2 separate regions of the Homo sapiens genome follow, and region 2 is linked to region 1. Evidence: promoter capture Hi-C in 16 types of primary human blood cells and fetal thymus (Javierre and others, 2016). All regions are on one chromosome and are shown on one strand. Each heading gives the region's core, a stretch centred on a gene start or on the middle of the fragment in contact. The rest is flanking DNA. Distances are from core to core; before and after follow the strand shown. Region 1 has its middle 8.9 kb from the start of EIF1AD. Region 2 holds the start of KAT5 (lysine acetyltransferase 5).

Region 1 (2,850 bases), core at 101-2,600:
TAATCTATTACCACTGACAATCTAATTCCAAACCTACCTACCCACCCACCCAAAAAATCGCCAGGCATGGTTGGTTTTACAGCAAGCTTTACCAAAAATTGTAGAAATGCAAAATTCCAATCTTATACAAACTCTCGTAATGAAAATAAAGGGAAAACACTTTCCAACTTATTTATATGAAGCTGGTATAACCTTGATACAAAACAAAGGGTGGGGGCAGTACGGAAAAGGAAAACCTTAAACCATTTCACCTATACACCTGGATGCCAAAATACCAGAGAACCAAATCCGGCAGTATAATAACAAATCCATTGTGACTGTCTTCTTCCAGGAATGCAAGGATATCTTAACGTGAGAGAATGTTATGATACTCCACCACATTTACAGATTAGAAGAGGAAAACCATGTGGTGAGCTCAGACTGCCATCTGTGCTCCCTGGCACACACACAGGGGTGGCTGGGTGGCAAGGGGGGAAAGCGCACTGGGCCACACGGGGAAGCCCTGGTGGAAATGACCTGGCTGTAGAGGTTAGTCCTGAAGTGACAGAGGTACAGATTCTGAAGGGCCACAAAGTCTCAAGCATAACTGCAAGAGAAGCCAGTAAGTACTATTAGGCAGCCAGTCACAGGGACTGGCCATGACATCGGGACAAGGGGCTCTTACATCAGATCTCAGCTCACTCAGGGAGATCTATTCATACATGGTTGGATCCCACCATTCAGTTGGAAGAACAGAGGTGGAATCCAGCTTCAGAGAATGACATAGGAAAGTAGCATGCAGAATACAAGGACCCTACCTCCATCAGTACCCTTAGCTACAGCCCACAGAAGCTGAATGGCTGGTAAGAGATGAAGAAGTGGAAACGAAAAGGTTTTAGGGGGAAAAAAAGATGTTACTAGGTGGATCACAGTATCACTGAGAGAATGGAGAAGAACATAAGACCAAGTTTACAGATAAAACGCCAAAACACACACACACAAAGTGGGGAACAGTCAAAGGACTATTTAGAAGAAAACATATAGCCCTGAATATATTAGAAAACAAATTGAAATTAAATTAGCTAAGCACACATCTCAAGAACCCAGAATGAGCAAATAAACCCAAAGAAACGAAGGAAAAGTCCAGTAAGGAAGACCTCTTGCAAAGCTAGCCAAATAAAATACACAAAATATAAACATATTTTGTTGATTTCACCTGCCCTCACCCCTTGCCCCACTTTTTCTGGTAATAGAACCTCTCTATTCCATGGGAAACATATAAAAATTACTTGTGGCTCATCCTGCCCCACCCCAGTCCTCCACACCCTCCCACCCCCCGGCCCTGGCCACAGTGACTGCTCAAGCACAGCAAGTGACCTGAGGAAGATCAATCGCCCTTCACGGAAATACAGGGATCCTCAAGAGCCCCAAGGGGCTCTGTCTACAAGGACTGTGTATAAACTTGAGCGTCCTGGCTGGGCGCAGTGGCTCATGCCTGTAATCCCAGCACTCTGGGAGGCCGACGCAGGCGGATCACGAGGTCAGGAGATCGAGACCATCCTGGCTAACACGGTGAAACCCTGTCTCTACTAAAAATACAAAAAATTAGCCGGGCGTGGTGGCGGGCGCCTGTAGTCCCAGCTACTCAGGAGGCTGAGGCAAGAGAATGGCGTGAACCCCGGGGGGCGGAGCCTGCAGTGAGCCGAGATCGCGCCATTGCACTCCAGCCTGGGCAACAGCGAGACTCCGTCTCAAAAAAAAAAAAAAAAAAAAAACTTGAGCTTTCTACAGAAAACATCTGTAGGAGGGAAAGAAATTAATCAGCCGGGAGCAGAGATGACAGAGATAAATGAGAGAGCCTGAGGAATTCATGCTGCTGGCATTGGTTCATCCCTGCCCGATGCGCACCACTCAGAGACCTCAGGTCAATGAGCCTTGCTTACTTCTCCTAATTTGAGTTCAATTTTGTCATTTATAAGAAAGTCCCGCATACGCCAGGATGGTGGCTCTCACCTGTAATCCCAGTACTTTGAGAGGCCAGGGCAGGAGCATCACTTGAGCCTGGGAGTTCGAGACTAGCCTGGGCAACATAGGGAGAGCCTGTCTCTACTAAAAATAAAAAAAATTAGCCAGGTGTGGTGGCGCGCACATGTGGTTCCAGCTACTCAGGAGGCTGAGGTGGGAGAATCACTTGGGCCTGGGAGGTCAAGGCTGCAGTGGCGCCATGATGGCCTGGGCAACAGAGTGAGAGGCTGTCTCAAAAAAAAAAAAAAAATTACTGGGTGCAGTGGCTCACCCTTGTAATCCCAGCACTTTGTGAGGCTGAGGGGGGCCAATCACCTGAGGTCAGGACTTTGAGACCAGCCTGGTCAACATGGCAAAACCCCATCTCTACTAAAAATACAAAAATTAGCTGGGTGTGGTGGCGGGTGCCTGTAATTCCAGCTACTTGGGAGGCTGAGGCAGGAGAATCACTTGAACCCGGGAGGTGGAGGTTACAGTGAGCCGATACTGCACCACTGCACTCAAGCCTGGGCGACACAGTGAAACTCTGCCTCAAAAACAAAACAAAAACAAACAAACAAAAAAAGAAAGTTCCAAATAATACAAATATTATGCATGAACTTTTGCCCAAAAAGCTTAAATATATATGAAATATGATCCTGGAATGATACAAATGATCAAAATTGACTCAAGGATAGAAAACTTTAGACAGAACACAACTGAATAAACTAAAAGGCAGTGAAAGATCCACCCCTGAAAAAGGTACCCAGCACAGATGTTTTTGTAAACAAGTTCACAACGTTGAAGAAACAAATGCCTGGCCTATAAAGTATTCAAGCCTGAAGAAAAAGACGTCTCCAAACCCAT
Region 2 (2,850 bases), core at 151-2,650, 280 kb before region 1:
CTGCAAGCTCTGCCTCCCGGGTTCACGCCACTCTCCTGCCTCTGCCTCCCGAGTAGCTGGGACTACAGGCGCCTGCCACCACGCCCAGCTAATTTTTTGTATTTATTTTTAGTAGAGACAGGGTTTCACCGTGTTGGCCAGGATGGTCTCAATCTCCTGACCTCGTGATCCGCCCGCCTCGGCCTCCCAAAGTGCTGGGATTATAGGCGTGAGCCACCGCGCCCAGCCGTTTTGTCCCATTATTTTAGATGCCAAGAACCTGTACACCCTCCACCGGTGACACCTTCACAGTTTTGAGGAGTATTCATGGGGTATTTTGTAAAATGTTTCTCAATTGGGATTTGTCTGATGTTTTTCTCATGATTAGACTGGAGGCAGCTGGGATTACAGGTGTGAGCCACCATGCCCAGTCTCCAAACCCTGTTTACACAAAAATTTTAAAAAACTAGCCAGGCTTGGTGGTGCGCGCCTGTAGTCCCAGCTACTAGAGAGCCTGAGGTGGATCACTTGATCCCGGGAGGGGGAGGCTGCAGTGAGCGGAGATTGTGCCTCGCTGGCTGCACTCCAGCCCGGGCGAGAGAGCCAGACCTTGTCTCAAAAAAAAAAAAAAAAAAAAAAAAAGCCTAATATGGCTGAGGGCGGTGGCTCACGCCTGTAATCCCAGTACTTTGTGAGGCCGAGGCGGGCGGATCACGAGGTCAAGAGCTCTAGACCATCCTGGCCAACATGGTGAAACCCCGCCCGTACTAAAAATACAAAAATTAGTTGGGTACTCGGGAGGCTGAGGCAGGAGAATCGCTTGAACCCGGGAGGCGGGGGTTACAGGGAGCTGAGATCGCGCCACTGCACTCCAGCCTGGCGACAGAGCGAGACTCCGTCTCAAAAATAAATATATACAAATTAAAAAAGCCTAATATACAAAATAAAGCTAGGAATCTTCCCTGAGTCCTCTTGCCTACGGAATGAAGTCCACAGACTTGGGGGAGCGTTCGAACCCTTCTAAGGCCACTTCCTTTCTCCAGCCTCTCGCGCCCAGTTGACTCCCGGCAACACCTCCCGCCGCCACAAGGAGACGCCCGAGGACTTCCCTCCGACAAAGCCAAAAACGGTATTGCCACGTGACCCGCTCCGCATACACGTGACCAGCTTCGCACCCGGTGGGCGTCACGTGACGGACTCAGTAGACCGCCACTGGCTGTGCACGTTATGGGGTTTCCACCTAGGGCTCGGCCTGAGGCTTGTAACACTCCGTTTTCCCCCGAGTCACAGGGGCAGTCTTGCCCCTCGCAGCTGGGTCGCGGTGTCTCTCAAAGGTCCCCCTCTACAGGGGCTTCGTGAGGCCCGGGCCCACAGGGCGCTCGGTCCCGGAAGTGACGTCTCCCAGAGGGGCCGGAAGTGGCAGTGGAGGGAGGGAAGATGGCGGAGGTGGTGAGTCCGGTGCCCGGGGCGGGGCGGAGGGAGCCAGGGGAGGTGGGTAGAGCCCGAGGCCCCCCAGTAGCCGACCCTGGCGTCGCGCTGTCTCCCCAGGGGGAGATAATCGAGGGCTGCCGCCTACCCGTGCTGCGGCGGAACCAGGACAACGAAGATGAGTGGCGTGAGTGACGTTGGGGGGCGGGACTAAGGAACCTGAGGGCGAGGGGCGGGAGTCAACTGAAATCCCGGGATGGGGAGGGGCGTCTGGAATTATGGGGCGGGCGAGGCGCAGATACTTTGATGAAGGGGCGTGGCTCTTAGCTGCTCCGAGAGGTACAGGGCGGGGCCTGGAAAGGGGTGGCACTTGTGACTGAAGGAGGCTTAGGAGAGACCTAAGTGCTGGAGCTTAGGGATCCGGCCTGGGGGTGGAGTTCAGGTCGTGGAAGGGTGGAGTCTCATAGCCTGGCCTGTCTAAGGCCCCTGTCTATGCTATTCTCATAGCCCTGGCCGAGATCCTGAGCGTGAAGGACATCAGTGGCCGGAAGCTTTTCTACGTCCATTACATTGACTGTGAGTTCTGGGCCTGAGGTGGGGCATCAGGGTAGGGTTGGGGGACAGTCTTTGGCATTCTGTCCTGAGCCATCCCCACTGCTACAGTCAACAAACGTCTGGATGAATGGGTGACGCATGAGCGGCTGGACCTAAAGAAGATCCAGTTCCCCAAGAAAGAGGCCAAGACCCCCACTAAGAACGGACTTCCTGGGTCCCGTCCTGGCTCTCCAGAGAGAGAGGTGGTGAGTAGGTCCCCCACTTCACCTTTTCTCTCCTGCCTCCTATTTCTCTTGTCTGTTGGCATTAGGAGCTCCTGGATGGGCAGGAGGCGGCTCCCTCTCACCCTGACTTCATCTTGCAAAGGATGGGGGCCAAATTGCACATGTAGCTCCCAGAGTCCAGTAGCTAGTCCTGTGTCCTTCAGAAGGCGAGGGTGGGGTTTGATAATTTTGAGGTGAGGGACCCCTCTTCCCCTTCCCCATCCCACTGCCATCCCCGCCCCAAAGGAAGACCCTGGACCTATCTCTACAGCCGGCCTCGGCGCAGGCCAGCGGGAAGACCTTGCCAATCCCGGTCCAGATCACACTCCGCTTCAACCTGCCCAAGGAGCGGGAGGCCATTCCCGGTGGCGAGCCTGACCAGCCGCTCTCCTCCAGCTCCTGCCTGCAGCCCAACCACCGCTCAACGGTACCCTCAGCAATTCCAGGGACCTTGCTTTCTTCTCAGGTCCCACCTTCTCTACCTTCTGACCCACCTTTGTTGGTTTCTCTCTGCAGAAACGGAAGGTGGAGGTGGTTTCACCAGCAACTCCAGTGCCCAGCGAGACAGCCCCGGCCTCGGTTTTTCCCCAGGTGAGTTCCCCAAACCATCTCTTGTTCTCTTCCT

What was found. Contacts are between HindIII fragments. The CHiCAGO score rates a contact against its expected background, and 5 or more counts as called.
Region 2: the fragment with the promoter of KAT5 here is called in contact with a fragment that was not itself captured in region 1 in 15 of 17 cell types (naive CD8 T cells, endothelial precursors, erythroblasts and 12 more); the score reaches 10.8 in naive CD8 T cells.

What each region holds. Positions count from the first base shown.
Region 1 is chr11:65,991,852-65,994,701 of GRCh38, forward strand. No RefSeq gene overlaps it. Among named protein-coding and RNA genes, the nearest start is that of EIF1AD, 8.9 kb to the right of the region's middle. The HindIII fragment of the contact is 2,532 bases long and covers 85-2,616 here.
Region 2 is chr11:65,710,852-65,713,701 of GRCh38, forward strand. KAT5 (lysine acetyltransferase 5) reads left to right here and starts at 1,401. Exons shown (of 13, transcript NM_182710.3): 1 at 1,401-1,594; 2 at 1,915-1,983; 3 at 2,071-2,207; 4 at 2,497-2,652; 5 at 2,742-2,816. The coding sequence starts at 1,417. RefSeq lists enhancers at 957-1,076, 1,107-1,416 and silencers at 1,447-1,636, 1,647-1,726. The HindIII fragment of the contact is 6,423 bases long and covers 1-1,956 here.